Regions from separate parts of the Homo sapiens genome. Here regions 2, 3 and 4 are each linked to region 1. The links are contacts of gene promoters, found by promoter capture Hi-C in blood cells and fetal thymus (Javierre and others, 2016). All regions are on one chromosome and are shown on one strand. The core of a region is centred on a gene start or on the middle of the fragment in contact, and the rest is flanking DNA. Distances in the headings are between cores, read along the strand shown.

The links. Contacts are between HindIII fragments. The CHiCAGO score rates a contact against its expected background, and 5 or more counts as called.
Region 2: a fragment that was not itself captured here is called in contact with the fragment with the promoter of TUBA1C in region 1 in 8 of 17 cell types (total B cells, total CD8 T cells, M2 macrophages and 5 more); the score reaches 6.9 in total B cells.
Region 3: a fragment that was not itself captured here is called in contact with the fragment with the promoter of TUBA1C in region 1 in 1 of 17 cell types (monocytes); the score reaches 5.9 in monocytes.
Region 4: a contact is called between a fragment that was not itself captured here and the fragment with the promoter of TUBA1C in region 1, in 1 of 17 cell types (monocytes). The highest score is 5.1, in monocytes.

The regions. Positions count from the first base shown.
Region 1 is chr12:49,260,080-49,267,639 of GRCh38, reverse strand. TUBA1C (tubulin alpha 1c) reads right to left here and starts at 2,558. Exons shown (of 4, transcript NM_032704.5): 1 at 2,456-2,558. The coding sequence starts at 2,458. RefSeq lists silencers at 1,929-2,142, 2,497-2,756, 2,797-3,236 and an enhancer at 2,207-2,366. The HindIII fragment of the contact is 8,287 bases long and covers 1,835-7,560 here.
Region 2 is chr12:49,512,202-49,519,761 of GRCh38, reverse strand. It overlaps SPATS2 (spermatogenesis associated serine rich 2), which reads right to left. Exons shown (of 14, transcript NM_023071.4): 10 at 5,149-5,207; 11 at 580-689. Among named protein-coding and RNA genes, the nearest start is that of KCNH3, 23 kb to the left of the region's middle. RefSeq lists a silencer at 5,757-5,935. The HindIII fragment of the contact is 1,942 bases long and covers 2,683-4,624 here.
Region 3 is chr12:49,022,788-49,029,276 of GRCh38, reverse strand. KMT2D (lysine methyltransferase 2D) reads left to right here. Exons shown (of 55, transcript NM_003482.4): 45 at 41-216; 46 at 319-449; 47 at 1,136-1,268; 48 at 1,347-1,474; 49 at 1,955-3,095; 50 at 4,331-4,467; 51 at 4,569-4,699; 52 at 6,402-6,489. Among named protein-coding and RNA genes, the nearest start is that of PRKAG1, 7.3 kb to the right of the region's middle. The HindIII fragment of the contact is 8,267 bases long and covers 1-6,489 here.
Region 4 is chr12:49,122,198-49,129,757 of GRCh38, reverse strand. It overlaps TUBA1B (tubulin alpha 1b), which reads left to right. Exons shown (of 4, transcript NM_006082.3): 2 at 36-258; 3 at 368-516; 4 at 820-1,976. The coding sequence ends at 1,800. Among named protein-coding and RNA genes, the nearest start is that of TUBA1B, 5.4 kb to the left of the region's middle. RefSeq lists enhancers at 1,079-1,578, 1,579-2,080. The HindIII fragment of the contact is 2,267 bases long and covers 1,980-4,246 here.

The sequences.
Region 1 (7,560 bases), core at 1,309-3,808:
GAGAAAAAGTCTCGCTCTGTCGCCCAGGCTGGAGTGCAGTGGAAACTCCGCCTTCCAGGTTCAAGCGATTTTCCTGCCTCAGCCTCCCAAGTAGCTGGGATTACAGGTGCCCACCACCATGCCTGCCTTATTTTCGTATTTTTAGTAGAGATGGGGTTTCACCATGTTGGCCAGGCTGGTCTTGAACTCCTGACCTCGGGTGATCTACTCACCTCGGCCTCCCAAAGTGCTGGGATTATAGGCGGGAGCCACCACGCCCGGCATCATGTTTACCTTTAACTGGACTTTGGAAACGCCCAAGCCCCAAAAAGCTGGAGATAACCAGATACCTGATCATGATGGCCCCCAGGCCCAAGGAGATAAAGTATCTGAGAAGATCCACTCATTCTAACAAATGCTTCTTCTGTTTAAATGCCGTTTCTATTTTGCGCCCGCAATTTTTCTTTCATTGCTCAGTCTAAACTGCCTTCTTGAAGCTTAGCAGGCAGTCAGCGGCCACTGACTTACCCTCCACTCTCCCCTGGCCACGTGGGAGAAAGTGAGGCACAGGTGGAGTCAATTGGTCTAGTGTTAACTGGATAAGCAGCTCTTACCTCTCGTTAAAAAACAAGAAAATTTAACCAGTGTTCACCTAAACCAGTCCGCTGCCGCTCTCCTGCTTTTTAAAGGGTCTCACTACTTTGTGAATCCCACTTTTACCAGTATCTTTTTGGTACTGCTTGAAAAGAAGCAATAAGTTGTTACAGTGCGACATATACATGTATTTACATTTGATTTTTATATTTAAATTCATGTACGTATTTTTGAGATAAGGTCTCGCTGGAGTGCAGTGGTGCGATCTGGGCTCACTGCAGCTTCCACCTCCCGGGATCAAAAGATCCTCCCACCCCTGCCTCCCGAGAAGCTGGGACTACAGGCACGCACCACGACGCCCAGATAATTTTTGTATTTTTAGTATAGACGGAGTTTCACCGTGTTGCCCAGGCTGGTCTCGACCTCCTGAGCTCAAGCGGTCCTCCCGCCTCGGACTCCCAAAGTGCTGGGATTACAACCATAAGCCATCGCGCCCGGCCTAAGATAGTTGTTTTCAATACTTCTGGAAGCTTTATAGAAAACACTCAAGTTACGTATAATTTCACGTTTCTTGAAAACTGAACTAAGAACACGTGGTACTAGTTTACTCTGGGGTTTGCGGGTTTTTTTTTGTTTTTGGACGGAGTCTTGCTCTGTCGCCCAGGCTGGAGTGCAGTGGCGCGATCTCGGCTCACTGCAAGCTCCGCCTCCCGGGTTCACGCCATTCTCCTGCCTCAGCCTCCCGAGTAGCTGAGACTACAAGCGCCTGCCACCACGCCCAGCTAATTTTTTTTTTTTTTTTTTTAGTAGAGACGGGGTTTCACCGTGTTAGCCAGGATGGTCTCGATTTCCTGATCTCGTGATCCACCAGCCTCAGCCTCCCAAAGTGCTGGGATTACAGGCGTGAGCCACCGCGCCGGGCCGGGTTTGCGTTTTTTTGAGACAGTTTCGCTCTGTCGTCCAGACTGGAGTGCAGTAGCGCGATCTCGGCTCAGGGAAACCTACGCCTCCTGGGTTCAAGCGATTTTCCTGCCTCAGCCTCCCGAGTAGCTGGGATTACCGGCGCGCGCCACCACGCCCAGCGTTTTTTTTTGTTTTTTTTTTTTTTTAAAGTAGAGACGGGGTTTCACCATGTTCGCCAGGTTTGTCTCGAACAAGTGCTGGGATTACAGGCGTGAGCCACTGCGCCGGGCCAACTCTGGTTTTATAAGAAAATATCCTTTTGTGGACGTGTTTTTAAACCCGGCTTAAGTAGAAAGCTTCAGCTATAAACCTACCACTAGATTAACACCAGAAATGCAGGATTAGGCAACGTGAAAGTTAATTATTCCCTTCCAAGGAGGTGCCTGCCTCCATTCTCAAGTGGACTGGCGCAGTTGGAAGCTCTCCCCAGGGCAGGGCCACAGGTGACTCAGCAGCGAGTCACTGGGCGCTGGAGAGGGGGAGCCAGGAAGTGCTGCACCGTCGGTGCGGGAGCGCACGAGGGCCTCCGGGGCCCAGTTTGTAAGGCAGTAGGAAGGAGAGGTCGCTTGAGAAAACGTGGGGAGGGATTTTTAGTTTAAGTTCTTGGAGGCCAATGAGCAGGCTCCCTGACCTTCCTCCCTAGGGCAGTAGCGGGCCCTGCGGGGAAAGCCCTCACTAGGATCAAGAGGGCTTTCCATTTCCACTGATGGCCGCACCCGGGCCAGGTTTTCCGGCCCGAACTGGTGTCTGCCAAGTGAACTCGACCTTCCAGCCCGGCCGCCACAAGCCAGGTTAACCGGAGGGGCCCGGGGTAGTCTGGAGCTGTCCTGGGCGCGGCCCGAGGTGCAGGCAGTAGTTTCCGGGCCCGCCGTCCCCTGGGACGCGCACTCTTCCCCAGCCCCGAGGGAACCCCACTCACCATGACTAGAACTTGAAGGGGTCTGCGGCGGTGAAGGAGGCGAAGGGACGGCAACAAGGATCTCCCACTAACAGACTACCAAGGAGTCCGGGGGAGAAGTAGTGAAAGGGTGGCCGGCCCCGAAGGGCCTTATATACCCGGTCCCCGGCCACGTGTCGGGAGGGCGGGCCCCAGACCCCGCCCCGTGCCGCTGCGGCCCCACCTTCGAGCCCTGGCCTGCGCCCGGCCGCACCCGCGGAGTGGGGGCGCGCGGCGCTGATTGGCGGATTCAAAAGTTCAAACCAAACTCGTCGGAAGGAGCCAGGAGCAGGAAGAGGAGGAAGGGGAGGAAGGGGAGGAAGGGGAGGAAGGGGAGGAAGGGGAGGAAGGGGAGGAAGGGGAGGAAGGGCAGGAAGGGCTCTGGGGCTGGAGAATGGGCCGGGACAGGGACAGAGGTGTCCACTGGGAGGAGGGAGCAGGCCGGACGTCTGCCCCGTCCCCGGTGGGTGCGGGGGCGTCAGGTGGGCAAAACCCCAGCGAGGGGAAGCTCCAGGTAAGAGGGCGACCGCGCCCAGGAGGGAAGCCCTTACTGCACCGCCCCGGCCTCGCCCCCGGTCCCCGCGGCTGCGCTCCCTACGCCGCCGGGGAGGCGCCGACGCCGGGACCAGGCTGCGGGTTCCGCCTCGGAGTCCTGGCTGCCGGGCACCCCGGCTGGGCCCGCGGGCGCCCGCTCCCCTCGCCGCTGAGGGCTGTCCAGAGAGAGGGCTTGCTCCCCACTCTAGGTCTGAATCACCACGAACGCGCCTTAAACTCTATTCCCACCTTTTTGGTTGCTTTTCCTTACGTCCTCTTTAAATGAGCCTTTGGCTTCTAACAGTCTCCTCCCGATAGGCGCAAAAGCAGTTTTTTCAGTTCATTAGGATAATGAATAGCTTACATTTTTTGATTGCTAACTATGCAGAGTAGTTGGCTTTTTTTTTTTTTTTGAGACGGAGTCTCGTTCTGTCACCCAGGCTGGAGTGCAGTGGCGCGATCTCAGCTCACTGCAACCTCTGCCTCCCGGGTTCAAGCGATTCTCCTGCCTCAGCCTCCTGAGTAGCCGAGACTACAGGCGCGTGCCACCACACCTGGCTAAATTTTTGTATTTTTAGTAGAGACGGGGTTTCACAGTGTTAGCTAGGATGGTCTCGATCTCTTGACCTCGTGATCCGCCCGCCTCGGCCTCCCAAAGTGCTGGGAATACAGGCGTGAGCCACCGCGCCTGGCCGAGTAGTTGGCTTTTCATATCACATGATCACATTTCATCCATATGACAAACTCTATGAATTATTATCCCTAGTTTACAGATGAGGAAAGTAGAGCTCCGAGGAATTAAACCCTTCAACACTAACTTGTACTGCGTCATACTAAATGTGCCTCTCTGACCATCTCTGCCAAGGTTTCTCAGAAGCGCCTTTTATTTCTGTTGTTTTTGTTTCTCTGCAACTCTATCATGTTATCTTAGCTCATGAATTCCTTGACCATCTCTGGGAGATACAGAGTTTATGGAAATATTGAGGGAACAAAAGTGAATTTTCTGGCCGGGCACGGTGGCTCATGCCTGTAAGTCCAGCACTTTGGGAGGCCGAGGCAGGCAGGTCACTTGAGGTCAGGAGTTCAAGATATACTTCAACTCACACATACAAAATGGCCCTTGTGGAACATATGTGTAGAGATTTTAGTCTTAGTAGAGCTTTTCAACTTTTTCATTCATTCCCCAGATATATTTAGCACAGTATCCGAGATGCTTAGGGAATATGTTTGTGAGCAAAACTGATGGCTCTGCCTCATGGAGAGGGAATAGGGAAGATAGGGAAGTGGGAGTGGGATAGGGAAGAAAAACAACCAACAGGCCTGGCGCAGTGGCTCAAGTCTGTAATTCTGGCACTTTGGGAGGCGGGCGGATCACTTGAGGTCAAAAGTTTGAGACCAGCCTGGCTAACACGGTGAAACCCCATGTCTACCAAAAAATGTGAAAATTAGTCGAGCATGGTGGTGCACACCTGTAATCCCAACTACTCGGGAGGCTGAGGCAGAATTACTTGAACCTGGGAGGTGGAGGTTGCAGTGAGCAGAGATCGTGCCACTGTACTCCAGCCTGAGTGACAGAGACTCTGTCTCAGAAAAAAAAAAAAAAAAAAAAGAGTAATTCTCTTGTACTTTAAATTAATTTTAAGCATTGGGATCCATATTTAGATTTGCTGCCCTCTGCTGGAATTTTTTGGGGAAAAATTTCCTGGGTAGACAGTTAAACATTTAACCTTTATGTTAACAGATCTTTATGAGTCTAAAAATTACAGTGTAAGGAGAGGCAGAAACTGGACTTACTTTTCAGTTGACAGTTTCCAGAATTCACCAAAAATATGCTAAATTATTATTATTATTTTGACATGGAGTCTCGCTCTGTTGCCCAGGCTGGAGTGCAATGGCATGATGTCAGCTCACTGCAACCTCCACCTCCCAGGTTCAAGCAATTCTCCTGTCTCAGCCTCCCAAGTAGCTGGGGTTACAGGCATGTGCCACCATGCCCAGCTAATTTTTGTATTTTTAGTAGAGATGGGGTTTCACCATGTTGGTCAGACTGGTTTCAAACTCCTGACCTCAGGTGATCCACCAGGCTCAGCCTCCCAAAATGCTGCGATTACAGGCATGAGCCAGTTTGCCCAGACTATGCTAAATTATTAATAGGGTGACAGAAGACACGGTTCAGTGATCAGCCTTTTTTTTTTTTTTTGCTATAAAACTTTTTTTTTTTTTTTTTTTTTTTACACAGGGTCTCACTCTGTCACCCTGGATGGAGTGCAGTGGTGCAGCCTCGACTTTTTGGGCTCAAGCAATCCTCTTGCCTCAGCCTCCCAAGTACCTGGGACTACAGGTGTGTGCTACCATGCCTGGCTAATCTTTTTTTTTTTTTTGTAAAGATGAAGTCCCACTATATTTCCCAGGCTGGTTTTGAACTCCTAGGCTCAAGCAATCCTCCTGCCTTGGCCTCCCAAAGTGCTGGAATCACAGGTGTGAGCCACCACGCCTGGCTAATATATAACTTTGGATGGACATTTCCCCTCCTCAGGGTCCAGGTTTTGAATGTGCAATATGAGGAGATTGGACAGGATCCTCTGTAAGGCCCTTACAGCCCTAACATTCTGTGATGTGTGACTCAAAGTTTGTGGGGTTCATGTGAGCTCTACAAATATGAGCAAAGGAGAAAACATGCTTCCTCAGTCAACATCTTGACTGAAGAATCACCAGAACATTAGATAAATAATTACAGATGGGGCTTTCGTTGTAATCTTACAATGCTTTAGGGAAATAAGCGTTGCATACCTACTGCAGCTTTCTTGGGCTTTAAATGACCATATAGCATGTTCACAAAACATCACAAAACATTAGTAAAGAGAAAAGAATTCAGATAAAACTGAACCTTATTTTTTTTCAGCCTAACTCCTGTTTTCTTTGCTGAGATACTAGTAATGCTGAAGTATTTGTTTGTGTTCAGTTACAAATTACATGATACAATTAATGATGTAGGAATATTTTGTGCTTATGTAGAAATTTATAACAAAATGTTTTCTACTGCAATAGTGCCTTGGTAGAGTTTTTATAAATGAGTTTTTACAAAGGTATTTATTATGGAACTGTGGAAAATAAAGTCCTGAGACTTGAAATAATTTACCCCAAACCACAAGAGATAGGAGTCAGATTAAATACCTACAATGACAGTTGTCTCTTTTATTCTAGGTTCTTCCTCAGCCTGTTATTGGCTCTAGTTAACAGGGAAAGGGAAGTCCTAGAAAAGTCATTTATTGAATTTGTAGTCCTATGGTAAGGTTACTAATGTAACAAGAAAAAAAATTTACCCTACTTTTAACAACCCCAAAGGACAGCTAGGACTCTGCAGTTGAACAACCTTCTTTACAATAAGCATTTTTTTTTTTTTGAGACGGTGTCTCGCTGTGTTGCCCAGGCTGGAGTGCAATGGCGCTATCTTGGCTCAGCGCCACTGAGCCCCAGGCTGGTCTCAAACTCCTGACCTCAGGTGATCTGCCTGCCTCGGCCTCCCAAAGAGCTGGGATTACAGGCATGAGCCCCTGCGCCCAGCCTACAATAAGCATTTTTTAAGATTTATGCATTTCAGCCAGGTGAGGTGGCTCATTTCTGTAATCTCAACACTTTGGGAGGCCAGGGTGGGCAGATTGCTTAAGTCCAGGAGTTCGAGACCAGCCTGGGGCAACATGGCGAAACCCTGTCTCTATGAAAATTAAAAAAAAAATTAGCTGGACATGGTGGTGTGTGCCTGTCGGCCAGCTACTCGGAAGGCTTTAGTGGGAGGATCACTTGAGCCTGGGAGGCTGAGGCTGCAGTACGCCAAGATCATGCAACTGCACTCCAGCCTGGGGGGAAAACAGACCCTGTTCCACCCAAAAGAAATAAAATTATGTATTTCAAGGCAGTTTGTTTTTTCTCCTTTTTTATGCCTTGTATGTACAGAATAGCAGGACATTACTTTCTAGGTAACATGTTATTTTATTTTATGGGAAAAACAGTCCTTGGATCCTTTAACTTTTATTTATTTCTCTTTTATCCCACAAATGTTTGCAGTCTTTAAAAGTTCCTACAAATTCTTTAGAAGTTCTCTTCCTCCCTGATTTGAGCTGTGTTTTGGACGACTTCCCCTTTGGCAGGGCTTAGTATGTGAAATGCTAGCTCCATTCTGGGAGATTACCATAGAAGATTGACTTTCATCTCTGAAATTACACATTTTCTTTCCACTGAGATTTGGCTTGTTCTGATCTGCTTTATATTTCCTAAAAATACAGTGCTGTGGCATCACTTCCTCGGTGACTAACTGAAACAACTGAACCGGTTCCTTTGACCTGTATTCCCACCCTGTATCCCTACACCCAAGACTTCTTACTCAAGCTCTTGCTAATCTTTTCTGGAATTAACTACCATTCCCTTGCCCCCTTCCCCCATTCCTTTAGGATACACAGATAAAATTCTCTTGGAGGAAAAGTAAAAGGAACTACTCATATTCTTCAATTGTCTACAGTATTACTCTAATAAAAGGACTATATCATAGAGCCTGG
Region 2 (7,560 bases), core at 2,404-4,903, 250 kb before region 1:
GCAGGTGTGTCTGTGGAGTGTAGAAGCCTCCAGCCTCTGCTTGAGGGCAGAGGACCGGGGGGATGGTATGAACTGAGGGTAATGGCAGAGCAAGACTGCACAGTCCTTCAGACCGGATTAAGGATTATAGTATTCATCCTAAAAGCAACAGAAAGTTTGAAGCAGACTGCTGTAGTGTGGGGAACATACATGGAGGGTGGGGCGGGTGGGGCAGAGACAGAATGGATGAACAGAACCAGTTAAGAGGCTCTTACAGAAGTCCAGGCAAGAGATGGTGGTAACCTGATCATAATGGTGGTGGTGGAGATGAAGAGATAAGGTCAGATCTGAGATTTAGTCAAATGGATGGAGTGTGCTGACAGATTTAAGGTGGGAAATGGAGAAATTTCCTAAGGTTTCCAGCTGGGACAACTGGGTAGATGATAATACCACTTACAGAGAAAGGGACTTGGAAGAGGGCCAGGTTTGGGAAAGGAAGATCATGAGTTTAATATATTAGATATGGCCATGAATTATGAAAATTTCTTACTTTAGCCCCTGAGGATAAGAAGAAAGGCAGAAAGCAGAAAGAAGTTTTACCTTGATATCAGCTCTGAGCTCAACCAATTGCTGCTCTGACATTTGAACAGCCACATGAGTCATCTTCTTTAGAAGTTCAGCCTTCTTTTGTCGGCTGAGCAAAATTTCCACTGTAGAGGAAAAGTGAGTGTGAACCTTATGTTGCTGCTAAATAGGATAAAGAAGAACTAGAAATATAAGCCTTGCAGTAGGTATTTGGTCAGCCAAAGGCTTAGCTGCCTATCCACCCAGAAAATGAAAATATCAAAAGTCTGGTCTCTACCTTCCATTGGGTCTCTGAAGGCAGTTAAGTGGTAAATATTTTTTATAAATCACAAACACTCATAAATCATTGTTATTTCTCCTTCCAGTCAAAAAAATTTTATCAAGATGCATATAAATTAAAAAGGAAATATGTACACATAATAAAAAATATTCATCTAGAGTAAGTTGGGTATAAAATGAAAAGAGCATCTCTCTTATTTCTGATTTTGTGGTCTCCTCTCCAGGGGAAACGACTGTTCACCATTTCTTACGTACACATCCAAATATTGTGTATGTACATACAACATGCATACATATGTAGCTCTCTTTTTTCCCTTCTCACAAATGGAAGTATATCATACACATGGTCTTTCTTTTACCTTAGCTATTTTTACTTAATATATCTTTAAATTTATTCCCTATTAATACATCTGGATCACCTTCATTCTGTTTAACAGCCACCCAGTATGTGGATATACCACAATTATTTACCGAGTTCCCTAGTGATGGGTATTTAGATTGTTACACCCTTTTAAGAACCACCTTCTCTGGCATGCTTTCTGATATATAACTTGGATATGGTCATGGCAGAGAACATACAATAAAAATCTCCCAGAGAGACAGGGGCTACAGTGGAAACAAAACCAAAGAAATCCTCCCAGGAAGCAGATAAACCACCCAACGAATGTTCTCTACTACCAGGGAAGGGACTCTGCTATTCCTTCCCATCCAGCAAGATTTGATCATTGCTTTTCCAAGTGGGAATTTTTACTATAATTATCCTTTTCTTTCTCCAACTATGTAATATGGGAGAAGGGGGCATTTAGCCTTTCTTTTAATTTATGAGACCCCATCCTTGGAAGATCTGAAATCACTCTGAAGACCTGGCCTTTCAGCTGAATATTAACTAACTAGATGAGACTTTGGAGGTATTGCTATTGAGGAGGTGGTGAACATATTCTCATTTTGGAAAAAAGAGGGATACTGGGTAGTGGAGGACTGTAGCAAAGACCATTAGCTGATGGAACACAGTCTTTCCAACTACATTCAGGAACATTCAGGGCTATCAGAAATCCAATGTTGTTGGGTACCAACATAATTGGGTAAAAAAAAAATCTATATTTTCTGGCTTTGCTACAGATGAAACGGCCATGTGATATAGTTTCCCCATTGAGATATAAGCAGAACTCAAAGGGCAGGCTTTACAGGAAAGCGTTTTAAGGGAGTCTTAGCATGTAACGTTTTACTCCTTCTCGACTGGAGCCTAGGGAGTTGTCTTTTGACCATAAGCATACTCTCAGAATGGCTGGGCAGAAGAACAGAAGATCCTGGGTCCCTAATGTCATCTGGGAAATGTCCTGCCAGCCCTGGGTTGCTTACCTCTGTACTTTTCATTTTCTGAGAAAAAAGGACACTCACATTTATTTAGGCCACTCTGTTCCATGTAGTCAAACTCAATCCCTAACTGATATACATAGAATCCTGTAACACACTGAGGAATTAGCCAAATTCACGTCAGAAAAAAACAGAAGTTTTAAAGAGTTACACCAGGTATTACAGAGAGCTGGATGTATTTAGCAAGTTTACTCAGCCCAACTGCCACAGAGATGCACACATGGGCTGCCTAGACCCAAGTCACACTAATCAATCAGGGCCCACTTTCTCAGGAGTCAGGAGCATGCCTACAAAAGTTTCTTAACGCCAAAGCCCAACAGTTACAAATGATCTATTGGTTTAGGTCCCAAGATAAAACCTATTTGCCATTTGTATCAACTTCAGTTTCTCTCAGCTCTAGCATTCAGTGATTCTATGACAAAATTATAGCTCTCAAAATGGCAAAAATGAGGTGAATAAAAAGCTTTCTACACGTAACAGATAACTCATAGGACCTAATTATACAACACTGGAAAAGATTGAAATACTACAAACCTATCAGTTACTTAATAAAATTATAATATGTAAAAAACAAAAAGCAACTCTTGATAGCACTGGTAAATGAGTAATTACTCTTGATAGCATTGGTAAATGAGTAATATCATTGAGAACCAGGATTTTCAGGGAGAAAAGAGCTAAAGATATAAAACTGATGAAGTTAAGTAAAACTTTGAGCTCTGAATTTGATAAAATAAGATTGGCCACAAATTGATAATTGGTTGAAGCTGAGTGATGGGAATTTGTTACATTAGCCTCGCTATCTGAAATTTTCTTTTCTTTTCTTTTTTTTTTTTTAGTTTTGAGATGGAGTCTTGCTCTGTCGCTAGGCTGGAGTGCAGTGGCGCAATCTCGGCTCACTGCAACCTCTGCCCCCTGGGTTCAAGTGATTCTCCTGCCTCAGCCTCCCGAGTAGCTGGGACTACAGGCGCATGCCACCATGCCCAGCTAATTTTTGTATTTTTAGTAGAGACAGGGTTTCACCATGTTGGCCAGGATGGTCTTGATCTCTTGACCTCGTGATCAGCCCGCCTCGGCCTCCCAGAGTGCTGGGATTACAGGCGTGACCCACTGCACCCGGCCAAAATTTTCTATTAATATAAAAGATGTATTAATATTCTTAAAAGCACCTTCTTTTTTTTTAATTTCAAGACAGGGTCTTGCTCTATCGCCCAGGCTGGAGTACAGTGGTGCAATCACAGCTCACTGCAGCCTCGACCTCCTGGGCTCAAGTGATCCTTCCACCTCAGCCTCTCAACTAACTAGGACTACATGTAGCACATGACCCCATGCCTGATTTATATATATATATATATATATATATATATATATATATATATATTTTTTTTTTTTTTTTTTTTTTTTTTTTTGAGATGGAGTCTTGCTCTGTTGCCAGGCTGGAGTGCAGTGGCGCAATCTCGGCTCACTGCAACCTCTGCCCCCTGGGTTCAAGTGATTCTCCTGCCTCAGCCTCCCGAGTAGCTGGGACTACAGGCGTGTGCCACCATGCCCAGCTAATTTTTGTATTTTTAGTAGAGACGGGGTTTTATCATGTTGGCCAGGATGGCCTCGATCTCCTGACCTCGTGATCTGCCCGCCTCAGCCTCCCAAAGTGCTGGAATTACAGGCATGAGCCACTGCGCCCAGCCTTATTTCTTATTTTTTGTAGAGACGAGGTTTCACTATGTTGCCTAGGCTGGTCTCAAACTCCTGGGCTCAGGTGATCCGCCCAAAGTGCTGGGATTATATGCGTGAGCCACCACGCCTGGCCTAAAAGGACCTTCTTCTCAAAACTAAGAAATATGTCTTCTTAGTGGTTTTAGTTTATCTGCATTTCCATTTTCAAAAAGAGAATATACAGATAAAATAATGGACTGAAATGTCAAATTTAGAAACTCAAAATATATTGCTCAATGTAATGAAATCTCACCTCTGAAAAACAGTGGAAGGCATCTCTGCTACATTCTCAAATTTTCAAGTTAAAATGGACCAAAGCTGAAGTCATTTCAGTGCTTCAAAGCTGCATCCTCTGGCCCGTGACCACACACACAAGTGATTTAACTGTGAGTCATGATCTCGACCTAGCCCAGCATTTCTATTCTTACCAGTTTGGGGGTGGGTTAAAATAAACAACTTTCCTAATAATTAATCTGGCGTTCAATGCAGGAAGATAAAACCTGCCACCGAAATGCCTCAAATCAATGCCATTGTACAAGTTGCAGTTGGTATTCCCTTGTCTTCGTGTAGCTGTGTATGTTTAACCTAACACTTAACAGAAATGATCAAAAAATAGGTATCTGTTTTTTCTGTACAAAACCCCACAAATCACCAAAGTTAGACTTCATTCCTCCAGAATCTATTTTAGTAAGCTTTCAAGAAACCTGGTATCTTGAACCCTCAATTCTCTAACTTTTCCCCTACCCATTGATAACAGACACTGAGTGAAGACTGTTCTATAAACTGAGAAAACAAAGAAAGTTCTGAGATAGGTAATGATAGGAGTATACACATACAATCGTAGGCAACCTAATGAAGTCTTCTCTGATTATGCTAAAGGTTTTTTTCCAAGTAGAAAAAATCCCAGTGGAATTGCTTAAACACTAGAGGAAGAAACAAAATAAAATAAAAACCTGGTGGCAGATACCGTGATGCAGTCTCTTATACACTGAACTCTGCATTCAAAATATTAAGATTTGGAAATATTTTTAAAACAGGCTCTTTAAAGTTATTTCACCTGAAAGGATTCATATGCCAGTACAGTGCAACTGCTTAAGATTATTTAAATATATAAACTCTTATTATGGTATTTATATGGAACTTTTGTTATAAGGGTTGGGAAGTAGGTACCTACTATTTATGAAGGTAATAGCTTTAATTAAAGATCAATCATCTTACTTGCTTCAGCTTTCACTTTGTCCATTTCAGCAAGCAACGCCACTTCTCGATCCATTAAACTAGGAAAAGATGACAAAGGAATAAAAAGTTTGATCAGAAACTCAAATACAAAATTAGCACATTATTAATAGTAAAGAAAGACCAGTGAGTTTGTTTGCTAAAAGCATACTAAAAAATAATATTGTATGGATCACATACAAATTCTGATGTCTTACTCTCAACAAAGAATATTTTAAGATTTTCCCATAAATAAAATAAATAGACCCAATTCCCTTTTATATTGCAATATTGGTACATTGCAGCAGTACACCAATTGTAGACGTCTAAGAGTTGAGAACCAGCAGATGGCAGTAGCAAGCTACAAAACACATTTTTTAGTAAGCTGTGCTAAAGCAAAAGTCCGTGTGGAAATTACTTACTTAACCATGTATGTACTCACATACTTTTTTTTTTTTTTTTGAGACGGAGTCTCGCTGTCTCCTAGGCTGGAGTGCAGTGGCGCGATCTTGGCTCACTGCAAGCTCCGCCTTCCGGGTTCACGCCATTCTCCTGCCTCAGCCTCCCGAGTAGCTTGGACTACAGGCGCCCGCCACCACGCTCGTCTATTTTTTTTGTATTTTTAGTAGAGATGGGGTTTCACCGTGTCAGCCAGAATGGTCTCGATCTCCTGACCTCGTGATCCGCCCGCCTCGGCCTCCCAAAGTGCTGGGATTACAGGTGTGAGCCACCGCGCCCGGCCTGTACTCATACTTTTTATATTTATATTTTGGTCTATAAAATTTGATGGCCTTGCATCTAATTAATTTTTACCAAGCAATATCCCCACTAGGGCATAGTAAATTTATCCATGATTAGGACTTGTATGTCTTCAACAGCTGACCATGGTTGCACCAAGTCCACTTACATTTTAGTACTTAGAATGCAAAGTAGTCAAAAGATAGACATATAGTGTGCTAGTTTCTGAGAAACACATAATAGTAACTAGGAAGGATGGAATTACAGATTTCTGGTAGGCTTTTTACAGAAAAAGAACATTAAATAGGCAATTAGAATTTTTTCCACTGCAAATATAAATGGTTTATAGGCACATAAAGCTTTTCCATGTTGTTATAAAAGAGCCCACAGCCTTCAATGTATAAGGAGACAGTAGTACCCTAGTATTCAACCTCTGGATGAAAATAATTTTCCTTACCATATCGGTTTTGCTTTGTGGTGGCAAAAAGAAAAAAAAATCTAGAATGTTAATACTTGCACAAACATGCAATGTTCCAACTTTCTTCAAATTTGGAGTTCATTCTGATTTCTCCTTTTGAAGGGGAATATAACTACAGGGTAAATAAAAGTTCCACTCTTGTTTCTGGTTGTAATCACACTCAAACACACACACACACACACACACACACTCTTTCTCTCTCGCTCTAATTCAATTTAGCTCAATACATAGTTATGTTAGCACAAAGTAGTTAATGTGGAGACTATAGTGTGAGACATACAAAAATGTCTAAGGCAGGGTCATTTCCTCAAGGAGCAAATCTTTTATAGGGAAGTGCCAGAGAACATAGGTTTGATAATCGTTACGCATGATGTTAATAAACAGACTTGTAACTAAACAAATTTGGTTGACATATTAATCCAAAAGCATCAAACTGGAGAGAAGATACAATTATTGTGGGGTAGCAATACTTTGCTAAGAAAGCATTTCCCAAACCTTGGCAATATTTTGCTCCAAGAACTCTAGCAGCATTGGAATACCTAAAAGACAAAACAAAAGCACAACTGAGACAGGAGCTGCCAGGCCTACAGTTTGACATTACCTCTCTTATGTTGCCAAATCACCTTAAGATGCAGACGCTGTGTCCATCAGATGACAAATCCTTTTTCTCTGACAAAGCTTGTAAAATATTTATTAAAAGACTACAGCAAACAAGTAAGCCTTTTGCAGCTTACAATCTATTATGAGAAGTAGAATGTCAGATGACACTTTTAGCAAGGTCTGCATCAACACAATCAGGCTTTTTTGTGGAAATTTGTGCTAGTACATTCTGATAGCATTTTTTTTTCCCTGTGAGAATCACTAGTGTTCATTTAAATAAACTTTGTTTTTGATTAACTCGGTGATCACAAGAAATTCATAGGACTGTGCATGGACAACCATATAACCCCTCCATTAAAAAAAAACTAGCTTATAATATATCCAGCTACCATGTACCCACAAAAATTAAAATTAAAATACATATATTAGCTTATGTTTTCATGCCAAAAAACAATGAAAAGCAGTAAGAACTTCTGTTTCTTTTTGTTTGTTGTTTGTCATGTTGCCATCTATTGATAACATCTAGTGAAAAGTCCTATGATGTCAGCCCAGGGTTAAACAAGAGAATCTACTAGTTAACTGATGCTGATATATTTCTC
Region 3 (6,489 bases), core at 2,121-4,620, 240 kb after region 1:
TGCAGGGCTGTAGCAACAAATGTCTACTTTTGGTCCCCAGGATGGAGAGTGATGAGGATAGCGATTCTCCTGACAGCATTGTGCCAGCTTCATCCCCTGAGAGCATCTTGGGGGAGGAGGCCCCTCGTTTCCCTCATCTGGGCTCAGGCCGGTGGGAGCAAGAGGACCGGGCCCTCTCCCCTGTCATCCCCCTCATTCCTCGGGCCAGCATCCCAGGTATGTGCTACTCTGGATGTGGGCCAGGCCCAGTTCACCTGGGTTGTCCGAAGCTGGGGGAGAGGCGGCCAAGTGTTACACAAATTCCTCTTTCTCATTCAGTCTTCCCAGATACCAAACCTTATGGGGCCCTTGGCCTGGAGGTCCCTGGAAAGCTGCCTGTCACAACTTGGGAAAAGGGCAAAGGAAGTGAGGTGTCAGTCATGCTCACAGTCTCTGCTGCTGCAGCCAAGGTGTGTCCTAGGGGTACCTCGAGGCTGAGGGGAACCTGATCAGAGGGCAGTCCCTGGAATTTGTCTGGATAAGGAAAAATGTAGTCGTTCAAGCACATGTACTGAGTACCTATTGTATGTGAAAGCCTGGGCTAGAGGCTGTGAGATTCGGGTAAATGAATCATGGTTCCTGCCCTCACGGGGCTCGTAGTCCCATGGTAAAGACAGACAAGTCAACAACTAAGGAGCACCTGTGTGTGTAATGACACAGGTACTACATGACAGCATTGCCCCAGTCATGTTTGGTGGGACTCTGTCAGCTGTTTTGAAAATATTAACGGGCTTTTGTGGTCAAAGAAAGTTGGAAAACACAGTTAAAATGACAATATGGGTTTCTTTACTACAAGAGTCCTCAGGTCCTTTTAATTTGCTAACGTGTATCATGAGCCTCCAAGTCATGGATAGAGCATGCATCATTTCCTAAACGTAGTTGATGTAGTTCCCTTTTCGTGGAGCTCCCGTCAGTGCCCACAGCAGTTTGGGAAAGGCTGCTGTGAGGGAAGTGTATGAAAAGAGCTGGGTGACATAGGATAGAACTACCCTGGGGAGTGGGTTCTAGGTGTCCTTGTCCCCACCCAGCTGGTAGTAGAGCTCACCTCAGACACTTGGCTGATATGTTTCTTCCATCCCTTCCCTGGCCCTGGCAGAACCTGAATGGCGTGATGGTGGCAGTGGCGGAGCTGCTGAGCATGAAGATCCCCAACTCCTATGAGGTGCTGTTCCCAGAGAGCCCCGCCCGGGCAGGCACTGAGCCAAAGAAGGGGGAAGCTGAGGGTCCTGGTGAGTGTGGCAGGGAAGCCCTTTGGGACTTGAGGGGAGTGATTCTGGTGGGAGGCTCTGATCCACTCCTTTCTGCAGGTGGGAAGGAAAAGGGTCTGGAAGGCAAGAGCCCAGACACTGGCCCTGATTGGCTGAAGCAGTTTGATGCAGTGTTGCCTGGCTATACCCTGAAGAGCCAACTAGACATCTTGAGCCTCCTGAAACAGGTAGGTCTGGGGGAGAAAAAGGGGTGGGTGTTAGAAAAAAGGGGCTGCCGGCCAGGCGCGGTGGCTCACATCTGTAATCCCAGTGCTTTGGGAGGCAAGGCGAGTGAATCACTTTAGGCCAGGAGTTTGAGACCAGCCTGGCCAACATGGCGAAACCCCGTCTCTACTAAAAACAAAAACAAAACAGTAGCCAGGCGTGATGGTGCGTGCCTGTAATCCCAGCTACTCGAAAGGCTGAGGCATGAGAATCCCTTGAACCCAGGAGGCAGAGGTTGCAGTGAGCCAAGATTGTGCCACTGGATCCAGCCTGGGCAACAGAGCAAGACTGTGTCTCAAAAAAAAAAGAAAAGAAAAGAAAAAAGAGGCTGTCTAGGGCAAAGAATGTGGAGGCCTTTTGGGAGGGTGGCATATGGGTGAGGGGAAGGAGGGAGCTAGTTAGATGAGGAGCTGGCACTAATGATACAGGGCACCCTCCTACAGGAGAGCCCCGCCCCAGAGCCACCCACTCAGCACAGCTATACCTACAATGTCTCCAATCTGGATGTGCGACAGCTCTCGGCCCCACCTCCTGAAGAACCCTCCCCGCCCCCTTCCCCCTTGGCACCTTCTCCTGCCAGTCCCCCTACTGAGCCCTTGGTTGAACTTCCCACCGAACCCTTGGCTGAGCCACCCGTCCCCTCACCTCTGCCACTGGCCTCATCCCCTGAATCAGCCCGACCCAAGCCCCGTGCCCGGCCCCCTGAAGAAGGTGAAGATTCCCGTCCTCCTCGCCTCAAGAAATGGAAAGGAGTGCGCTGGAAGCGGCTTCGGCTGCTGCTGACCATCCAGAAGGGCAGTGGGCGGCAGGAGGATGAGCGGGAAGTGGCAGAGTTTATGGAGCAGCTTGGCACAGCCTTGCGACCTGACAAGGTACCGCGAGACATGCGTCGCTGCTGTTTCTGTCATGAGGAGGGTGACGGGGCCACTGATGGGCCTGCCCGTCTGCTGAACCTGGACCTGGACCTGTGGGTGCACCTCAACTGTGCCCTTTGGTCCACGGAGGTGTATGAGACCCAGGGCGGGGCACTGATGAATGTGGAGGTTGCCCTGCACCGAGGACTGCTAACCAAGTGCTCCCTGTGCCAGCGAACTGGTGCCACCAGCAGCTGCAATCGCATGCGTTGCCCCAATGTCTACCATTTTGCTTGTGCCATCCGTGCCAAGTGCATGTTCTTCAAGGACAAGACCATGCTGTGTCCAATGCATAAGATCAAGGGGCCCTGTGAGCAAGAGCTGAGCTCTTTTGCTGTCTTCCGGCGGGTCTACATTGAGCGGGACGAGGTGAAGCAAATCGCTAGCATCATTCAGCGGGGAGAACGGCTGCACATGTTCCGTGTGGGGGGCCTTGTGTTCCACGCCATCGGACAGCTGCTGCCTCACCAGATGGCTGACTTTCATAGTGCCACTGCCCTCTATCCCGTGGGCTACGAGGCCACGCGCATCTATTGGAGCCTCCGCACCAACAATCGTCGCTGCTGCTATCGCTGTTCTATTGGTGAGAACAACGGGCGGCCGGAGTTTGTAATCAAAGTCATCGAGCAGGGCCTGGAGGACCTGGTCTTCACTGACGCCTCTCCCCAGGGTGAGCAGTGGGCCCTTGAAATGGATAATATGGAATGGGAAAAGTTTCTCCCAGGGTCACTGTTACAATGTCTATAAGAGGACCTGTAGCTTCTATGTGAATGATCCTCCTTCCCCCACCTCAGGCAGGCAGGGGGTCTCTTGAAAACTCCCAGTGAAAGTGTTTGAGCCTCTCTTGTCACCCTAAATTCCCTTGTAGTTGAAAATATTTTGCTGGTCTAATCTCACATATTCTAGTTCTGTTGCTATCCCCAGTGGAACAAAAGGAAACAGTTCTGAGACTATCATCTGCCTCACCCAACCTAATCCTAACCAAGTTCCTTGGGGTTGTTTTTCCCTGGACGAAATCAGAATTATTTTGATTTTAGTTTTAGTGTTAATGATAAAATAACAGTAAGAGCAGGTACCTTTTTTTGAGTGTGTACTGTGAGCCACAAACTAAGCTAAGTGATTTGTGTAGTTTATTTTGTTCATACAACCCTATGAGGTAAGTATTATACTACGATTATGCCCAGTTTGTTCATAAAGAAACTGAGTCTCAGATTTCAGTACAGTCGTGCATTGCTAAATGACAGGGATACATTCTGAGAAATGCATTGTTAGGTGATTTTGTCATTGTGTGAACTTCATAGAGTGTACTACACAAACCTAGATGGCATAGCATACTACACACCTAGGCTCTGCGGTATACCCCATTGCTCCTAGGCTACAAATCTGTACAGCATGTAACTGTACTGAATACTGTAGGCAGTTGTAACATACGGTAAGTATGTGCATCTAGACATAGAAAAGATACAGTAAAAATACAGTACAGTATTATAATCTTACCAGACCACTGTTGTATATATGATTCCTCATTGAATGAAATGTTGTTAAGCTGCACGTGACTGTATTTGGCTCAAGGTCTCATGACCAGTACTAGAACCTGAACCCAAGTCTTTCCAACTCCAAAGCATGCCTGCTCTTTCACTAGGGACCTTCCATGGCCTATGCTGGGTCTCCTGGGCCCTGGGTTTGTATCTCAAGGCTCTGTGATGACCCCTTGGGGTTGGAAACCTCCTGCTTCTTAAGAGAGAGTGAGACTAGGAGGCCAAGAGAGGATCTGGAAGACCAACACAACTTCATGATAGGGAGGCTTGAAGGCCTCAGAAAACTGCAGTTCTGGATTGGGGTTAGGGACTGGAGGTCAGTGAGCAGAAGTTGCCTCTGAGGACTGCTCTCTTCCCTGCTTCTTAGCCGTGTGGAATCGCATCATTGAGCCTGTGGCTGCCATGAGAAAAGAGGCTGACATGCTGCGACTCTTCCCTGAGTATCTGAAGGGCGAGGAGCTCTTTGGGCTGACGGTGCATGCCGTGCTTCGCATAGCTGAATCAGTAAGGAAGGGGCTGGGAGCTGGGGGGCTTGGCGGGCACTGAGAACTTTGGCCTAACCCCAAAAAAACTCAGGCTAAGGTGAGTATGAACTGTGCCCACAGCTGCCCGGGGTGGAGAGCTGTCAAAACTATTTATTCCGCTATGGGCGCCACCCCCTTATGGAGCTGCCACTCATGATCAACCCCACTGGCTGTGCCCGATCAGAGCCTAAAATCCTCACACACTACAAACGGTGAGCTTGTGATGCTGGAGCCAAGGGATGTGGGTGTGGGTGTTGACAGGGATCCTCTGGTCCCATTATGAGGATTTAGGATACAGATCAGAGTTCCCGTGGAGAAAATGGGGAATCACTCTTAGACTTCCTAATTAGAGGGCATGCAGGTATTAGTAGGGTATCCTTTTCCTCCTCTCCCAACCTGCTCAGATGCACTTGGGATATAGGACAGAATTATCTTGGGCACCCTGGGGAGGTAATGGGTAAACTGGTGAAATTTTATGAAATATATAAGGGACTTGGTCACCTCTTTCTTCTCCTGTTTTACTTCTGGGGGAGGGCCTGTGATTCTCCCAAACCTCAGATACCCCATGGGTGCTAGGGTCACCTTCCCTTCCCCATGAGTGTTGGTGTCAAAAATAAATAGTTAGAGATATAATAGAAAAATAATAAAACCTTACATTTGTATAGCACTTTATACTTTTTTTTTCAAAGCGTTTTCACATCCATTATCTCATTTGATCCTCACAACAACCTTATGAGGTAGGTAGGGCAGGTGGTATGACCCCCATTTTACAGCTGAGAAAACTGAGACCCAGAAAGATTAAATGACTAGGCAAAGGTCACACAGCTGGGACCAGACCCTTACTTCTTCACTGCAGGTCCTTGTTCTTTCTGTGTACCAGGGACCTTAGTCCCTGGGTAGAGGGAGGCAGAATCTGTGGTAGCAGGGCTTTCTCGAAGGTCTTTGGTGGCTCCTAGGCTGTTGTAGAATGTCAGAGACTCTCCATCCCTAGCCAGCCTTGTCCTTGATGCCCTGCAATGGTGGTTTTCAAACTGTGAGTGCCTGTGTTCCAAAAAGTCCTGGATCACTTAAACTGATGGGTTGAACTTTTCCTTCCCATGCATATCTCTTCCTTCCCCAAATTGGATTAAACCAGAAGAGCTCCATTGTCATCTAGTTTATGTATTGGAGTTCCAGTCAACATTTTGTTAAAGAAAAAAGCAAAGATTTCTGCTAAATAAAAAAAGAACCAGAAACGTTTGAAAACCACTGCTCTGGGATGGCAAGAATTTGGCTGGTGCCCTAAGGTGGTAAAAGGCATCCTGCCAGGCAGCCGTCATTCCCCTGCACTGAGCCATCTGCACAGAGCCCAATGTTATGTCAGAGAAGGGGACAGTCCGAAGAAAGGATACCACCTTTAGGCTGTGAGTTCACAGCCAGTTTTAATTCAAATCTAGCCCAGCGTGGTAGGCACAGTCCCCATTTTCAGGGCTTCCAGTATGTGCAGGAGGTAGGATTCAGACATTCAAGCAAACCATCAGCTTAAATTCTAGGCCTGGGCTGCTTGCGGAAAACTTCCCAGAGGAGCATGGCCTTGAGAATGGTTTGGCAGGAGAGTGGTAGGAAGTGGGAGATGGGAGAACAGGCTCAGTGTAGGGGAATTGGTGCCCCCCATCTCCCTCCACACCCCACCCCTCACCCTGGGCTCTCTGTGCCACCCAGGGTGTCAGAAGGGTCCCTGTAGCTAGTTGCTTCCTCACCAGAGCTGAGACCCAGTTGCCTCTACTCCTTTCCCAAGGCTGCACTTCCAGTGCTTGCCAGCAGCACACGCCCCTAACTGGTGTGTTGCACATCCCAGGAGGTGGCAGAGGAGGTGGGTGGTATGTACTTGGTCTGAGGGAGAGCTGTCTTGTCATGGATTATATCACCTCCCAGGCCCCATACCCTGAACAGCACCAGCATGTCTAAGGCATATCAGAGCACCTTCACAGGCGAGACCAACACCCCCTACAGCAAGCAGTTT
Region 4 (7,560 bases), core at 1,864-4,363, 140 kb after region 1:
GGTTTAAATTGTGATATCTTTTTTCCTTCCCGCAGCGTGAGTGCATCTCCATCCACGTTGGCCAGGCTGGTGTCCAGATTGGCAATGCCTGCTGGGAGCTCTACTGCCTGGAACACGGCATCCAGCCCGATGGCCAGATGCCAAGTGACAAGACCATTGGGGGAGGAGATGACTCCTTCAACACCTTCTTCAGTGAGACGGGCGCTGGCAAGCACGTGCCCCGGGCTGTGTTTGTAGACTTGGAACCCACAGTCATTGGTGAGTTGACCTCAGTAACCTGAGATCCCAGGATGCTGGGACAGGAGGTCTGTCCAGGGGCTTCTCTTGTCACTCACTCACTCCCTCCGTCCTTCTCTCCCTCCTCCAGATGAAGTTCGCACTGGCACCTACCGCCAGCTCTTCCACCCTGAGCAGCTCATCACAGGCAAGGAAGATGCTGCCAATAACTATGCCCGAGGGCACTACACCATTGGCAAGGAGATCATTGACCTTGTGTTGGACCGAATTCGCAAGCTGGTAAGCACCACATATAAATATGCATTTAATGTGGTGTGATAGTTCCAGTGCAAGTTGGGTGGAGTGACTGACATCATTCATTCTTTGGCACCTACCAAAATGTGGAATAGGCTGCTTGCTATATTAATTGGACTTCTAAATCAGATAGTCCCTAGGTTATGGACAGTTTGTGGATATGTCTGTTTTGCCAATTCCTTGTGCTTACATCAGTGAGATATGGTTCGTAATCTAAAAAGTTGAAATAGAAATTCTAAGATAATGTGTCCTGGCATTAAAATATTACATTTTTTTATTCCCCTACAGGCTGACCAGTGCACCGGTCTTCAGGGCTTCTTGGTTTTCCACAGCTTTGGTGGGGGAACTGGTTCTGGGTTCACCTCCCTGCTCATGGAACGTCTCTCAGTTGATTATGGCAAGAAGTCCAAGCTGGAGTTCTCCATTTACCCAGCACCCCAGGTTTCCACAGCTGTAGTTGAGCCCTACAACTCCATCCTCACCACCCACACCACCCTGGAGCACTCTGATTGTGCCTTCATGGTAGACAATGAGGCCATCTATGACATCTGTCGTAGAAACCTCGATATCGAGCGCCCAACCTACACTAACCTTAACCGCCTTATTAGCCAGATTGTGTCCTCCATCACTGCTTCCCTGAGATTTGATGGAGCCCTGAATGTTGACCTGACAGAATTCCAGACCAACCTGGTGCCCTACCCCCGCATCCACTTCCCTCTGGCCACATATGCCCCTGTCATCTCTGCTGAGAAAGCCTACCATGAACAGCTTTCTGTAGCAGAGATCACCAATGCTTGCTTTGAGCCAGCCAACCAGATGGTGAAATGTGACCCTCGCCATGGTAAATACATGGCTTGCTGCCTGTTGTACCGTGGTGACGTGGTTCCCAAAGATGTCAATGCTGCCATTGCCACCATCAAAACCAAGCGCAGCATCCAGTTTGTGGATTGGTGCCCCACTGGCTTCAAGGTTGGCATCAACTACCAGCCTCCCACTGTGGTGCCTGGTGGAGACCTGGCCAAGGTACAGAGAGCTGTGTGCATGCTGAGCAACACCACAGCCATTGCTGAGGCCTGGGCTCGCCTGGACCACAAGTTTGACCTGATGTATGCCAAGCGTGCCTTTGTTCACTGGTACGTGGGTGAGGGGATGGAGGAAGGCGAGTTTTCAGAGGCCCGTGAAGATATGGCTGCCCTTGAGAAGGATTATGAGGAGGTTGGTGTGGATTCTGTTGAAGGAGAGGGTGAGGAAGAAGGAGAGGAATACTAATTATCCATTCCTTTTGGCCCTGCAGCATGTCATGCTCCCAGAATTTCAGCTTCAGCTTAACTGACAGACGTTAAAGCTTTCTGGTTAGATTGTTTTCACTTGGTGATCATGTCTTTTCCATGTGTACCTGTAATATTTTTCCATCATATCTCAAAGTAAAGTCATTAACATCAAAAGCTTTGTTTCCTGCGTTTTTTTCTAAAAGTGCCTTGGTTTTTAGATTCATCTATACTTGGAGTATAGAGAGTCTGGTGTCAAGGATCCCACTTACTGTGCAGGCACCTCTAGGGAAAAGGGAGCTCAACAGACTAGAAAGGCAGGAGCCCTAGATTCTCAGACTAGTTTACCACCTCAACGCTTGCATAGGGGGTGGGGAAAGTCATTCTGCTAATCTAAAGCTCATTTAGCTCTTCAGAGTAAGACTGGGTAGTTACTAATGAGTAATGTATAGGAAGTGTAAGTTTTGAATATCCACTGAGATGCTGCTGTTTAAAGTGGCCTGCTAACTTGTTAGTGTAATTAAGAAATTTCCAAGTGATCTTTGGCTGGTCATGGTGGCTCACACCTCTGATCCCAGGCATTCAAGACCAGCCTGGGAGACATGATGAAACTCCATCTACAAAAAAAAATTTGGGTGTGGTGGTGTGAGCCTATAAGCCCAGCTACTTGAGAGGCTGACAAGATTGAGGCTGTGGTGAGCTGTGATTGTACCACTGCACTCCAGCCTTGGTGACAGATCCTGTCAAAACAGTGACCTGGGAAAAACATCTGACTAGGAATATTTGAGGGTGGTGAGGTAAAGGCTGTTTCCAGCCCTATTGTGATAGGAAAAAGGACCAGAACTCATGGTGGTCAATAAAAGTCATGCTAGGTAAGAAGGCTAAACAATAAGCCATATGCATTGGTGGGAGAGGACTGCATTACATGAGGATAAAGCGGCAACTTTGGAAAGTTTAGGATAAAAGTTTATAATTTATAGCATTTGGCATGGTTTACATCCTTTCAAGTATTTTGGCTACATGTAACAGACTTGTAGGCACAGAGAATGTAAATAGAGGATTTAACCTAGGAGAAAACGTAGATTTCAAATCCGGAAAGCACAGGAAAATTATGGCTGCTGAAGACCTTGATGTCTTCTTGGTTCAAGACTGAAAGAATACATGAGGCATTTTTTTAAAAAGAAGAGGCCAGGCGCAGTGGCTCATGCCTGTAATCCCAACGCTTTGGGAGGCTTGAGGCGGGTGGATCACCTGAGGTCAGGAGTTTGAGACCAGCCTGGCCAACATGGAGAAACTCCATCTCTACTAAAAATACAAAATTAGCCGGACATGGTGGCGCATGCCTGTAATCCCAGCTACTCAGGAGGCTGAGGCAGAATTGCTTGAACCTTGGGTCAGGTGTGGTGGCTCATGCCTGTAATCCCAAGCACTTTGGGAGGCTGAGGCGGGCAGATCACGGGGTTAGGAGATCCAGACCATCCTGGCTAACACGGTGAAACCCCGTCTCTACTAAAAATACAAAAAATTAGCTGGGTGTGGTGGTGGGCGCCTGTAGTCCCAGCTACTCGGGAGGCTGAGGCAGGAGAATGGCATGAACCTGGGAGGCGGAGCTTGCAGTGAGCAGAAATCGCGCCACTGCACTCCAGCCTGGGCGACAGAGCAAGACGCCATCTCAAAAAAAAAGCAAAAACAGAATTGCTTGAACCCAGCAGGCGGAGGTTGCAGTGAGCCGAGGTTGCGCCATTGCACTCCAGCCTGGGCAACAAGAGCAAAACTTCATCTCAAAAAAAAAAAAAGTAGGGAAGTCTACAATTTTCCCAGTTTTTTGTTTTTTGTTTTTTTAGCCCATAAATCCTATAAATTTACAAAATGTAGTCAGCCCTCCCTATCTGTGGGTTCCATATCTAGATTTGACTAACTGGATTGAAAATACTTGGAAGCAACCGGCCATAGTGGTTCATGCCTATAATACCAGCACTTTGGTCAAGGCGGGAGGATCACTTGAGCCCAGGAGTTTGAGACCAGCCTAGGCAACCTAGGGAGACCCTGTCATTACAAAACTAAAACAAAAACAAATTAGCCAGTGTAATTGTGCTGCTGCATTCCTGTCTGGGTGCCAGAGAAAGACCCTATCTCAAAATATATATTTGGAAAAATGGATAGTTGTGTCTGAACTGAACATATACTTGTCCCCTTTATTCACTAAATGATACAGTATAACAATTATTTGCATAGCATTCACATTGTATTAGGTATTATAAGTAATTTGGAAATGACTTAAAGTATACAGGAAGATGTGTGCAGGTTACATGCAAACACCAGAGTTCTCTATATAAGGAACTTGAGCATTCATGGATTTTGATATCCTCCAGGGATACTAAGGGATGACTGCAACTCTCAGCTCCAAAGGTAATCTGATTTGGCATGAACAATTCAGAGAAAAAGCTTTGGTGGGGAGCCTACAGGCCTAGCATAGCAACAAAAATGTAGCCATCACAGGTTCCAAGGGAAAGCAGACATCTTTATTTATTTTTTATTTTATTATTTATTTTGAGATGGAGTCTCGCTCTGTCTCCCAGGCTGGAGTGCAGTGGTGTGGTCGTGGCTCACTGCAACCTCCGCCTCCCGGGTTCAAGTGATTCTCCTACCTCAGCCTCCCGAGTAGCTGGGATTACAGGCACCTGCCACCAAGCCTGGCTAATTTTTGTATTTTTAGTAGAGTTGGGGTTTCACCATGTTGGCCAGGCTGGTCTCGAACTCCTGACCTCGTGATCTGCCCGCCTCGGCCTCCCAAAGTGCTGGGATTACAGGCATGAGTCGCTGGGTGTGCCGAGCTGCAGACACCTTTAAAGAACTGAGAGGCCCGGGCACAGCAGCTCACGCCTGTAATCCTATCACTTTGGGAGCCCAAAGTAGGTGGATCACCTGAGGTCAGGAGACTGAGACCAGCCAGGCCAACATGGCGAAACCCCAACTCTACTAAAAATACAAAATTAGTGGCTGGGCACGGGGGCTCACGCTGAGATTATGCCACTGCACCCCAGCCTCGGTGACAGAGTGAAACTCTCAAAAATATACAATAAAACATTTTAAGCTGGGCACAGTAGTTCACTCCTGTAATCCCAGCACTTTGGGAGGCCAAGGTGGGTGGATCACCTGAGGTCAGGAGTTCGAGACCAACCAGGCCAACATGGTGAAACCCCGTCTCTACTAAAAATACAAAAATTAGCTGGGTGTGGTGGTGGGCACCTGTAATCCCAGCTACTTGGGAGGCTGAGACAGGAGAATTGCTTGAACCCGGGAGGCAGAGCTTGCAGTGAGCCGAGATCATGCCATTGCACTCCAGACTTGGTGATAAGTGCGAACTCCGTCTCAAAGGAAAAAAAAAATTTTAAAATTGTTTTATACATCAAGATGACTACTATTTTTTTTTTCTTGAGATGGAGTCTCGCTCTATTGCCAGGCTGGAGTGCAGTGGCTCAGTCTCGGCTCACTGCAACCTCTGCCTCCTGGGTTCAAGGGATTCTCCTGCCTCAGCCTCCTGAGCAGCTGGGATTACAGGCCTGCACCACCATGCCCAGCTAATTTTTGTATTTTTAGTAGAGACGGGGTTTTGCCATGTTGGCCAGGCTGGTCTCAAACTCCTGACCTCAAGTGATCCTCCCTCCTTGGCTTCCCAAACTGCTGGGATTACAAGGGTGAGCCACCACACCAGGCCAAGATGAATACTAATAATTATAAGTTAAGGCCTTGGGTTAAATGATATATTATGTGTGGGCCATGGGGGAGGGGATGGCTAGAATGAAATGGCACTGCAGTCATCTTATCTATACCTCTGCCCGGGCAGCAAGTACAGTGCCTGGTAATGCCCATAGAATGCTTCTAGGGAGGCCGGGCGCGGTGGCTCACGCCTGTAATCCCAGCACTTTGGGAGGCCGAGGCGGGTGGATCACGAGGTCAGGAGATGGAGACCATCCTGGCTAACACGGTGAAACCCCGTCTCTACTAAAAATACAAAAAATTAGCCGGGAGTGGTGGCGGGTGCCTTTAGTCCCAGCTACTTGGGAGGCTGAGGCAGGAGAATGGCGTGAACCCAGGAGGCGGAGCTTGCAGGGAGGCGGAGCTTGCAGTGAGCCGAGATCGTGCCACTGCAGTCTAACCTGGGCGGCAGTGAGGCTTTGTTTCCAAAAAAAAAAAAAAATGCTTCTAGGGAACCAAAAATAAATAATGGTAATTTCTCTTAGGCCAGATTCTTTTTCTTTTTCTTTTTCTTTTTTTTTTTTTTTTTGAGACGGAGTCTCACTCTGTCACCCAGGCTGGAGTGCAGTGGCACCATCTCGGCTCACTGCAAGCTCTCCCTCACAGGTTCACGTCATTCTCCTGCCTCAGCCTCCCGAGTAGCTAGGACTACAGGTGGCCGCCACTACGCCCGGCTAGTTTTTTGTATTTTTAGTAGAGACGGGGTTTCACCGTGTTAGCCAGGATGGTCTCCATCTCCTGACCTCGTGATCCACCCACCTCGGCCTCCCAAAGTGCTGGGAATACAGGCACGAGCCACCCCGCCCGGCCAGCCAGATTCTTTTTTTTCTTTTTTGAGACGGAGTCTCGCCCAGGCTACAGTGCAGTGGCGCAATCTCGGCTCACTGCAAGCTCCGCCTCCTGGGTTCACGCCATTCTCCTGCCTCAGCCTCCCGAGTAGCTGGGACTACAGGCACCCGCCACCACACCCGGCTAATTTTTTGTATTTTTAGTAGAGACGGGGTTTCACCATGTTAGCCAGGATGGTCTTGATTTCCTAACCTCGTGATCCACACGCCTCGGCAGCCGGAAGTGCTGGGATTACAGGCGTGAGCCACTGCGCCTGGCCCAGCCAGATTCTTTATTGTTCTACTCAATGTAAACTTTAAGCCCTAAGGTTTTGGAACTCTCACTCTGTTTCAGGGCCCAGGCTTCTTTGTCAAGTCTCAGGGGAGGGGCCTAGGGAACAGAGACATTTGGTTAGCCTCTTGTTCTGTCACTAATCAGGACCCCTTAATCTTCTGGGACTATTTTCCCTTTTACACTATAGATTTCCATTCTGCCTTTCTCAGAAGGGGTAGCAAGTAGGGCTTTAGAGTCTGGAAGGACCTGTAAACTTTTTTTTTTTTTTTTTTTGAGACAGAGTCTCACTGTTGCCCAGGCTGGAGTGCAGTGGCGCAATCTCGGCTCACTGCAAGCTCCGCCTCCCGGGTTCACGCCATTCTCCTGCCTCAGCCTCCCAAGTAGCTGGGACTACAGGCGCCCGCCACCACGCCTGGCTAATTTTTTGTATTTTTAGTAGAGACGGGGTTTCACCGTGTTAGCCAGGATGGTCTCGATCTCCTGACCTCGTGATCCACCCGTCTCGGCCTCCCAAAGTGCTGGGATTACAGGCATGAGCCACGGCGCCCGGCCTTGGACCTGTAAACTTAGAGATGTGCGTCCAAGTTGGGAGATGAGGGGCACTGCATCCCAGGTCTTGACATGTCTGCTCAGCCATACTCCAGAGCTGCTACAGAAGAATAGGCCATTTATTCAGAAAATAAGTATAACTTTTTCTTCTTCTTCTTCTTCTTTTTGGAGATGAAGTCTAACTCTGACATCCAGCTTGGAGTGCAGTGGTGTGATCTTGGCTCACTGCATCCTCCAACTCCCGAGTTCAAGTGATTCTCCTGCCTCAGCCTCCCGAGTAGCTGGGATTACAGGCACCCGCCACCACGCCCCGGCTAATTGTTTTGTATTT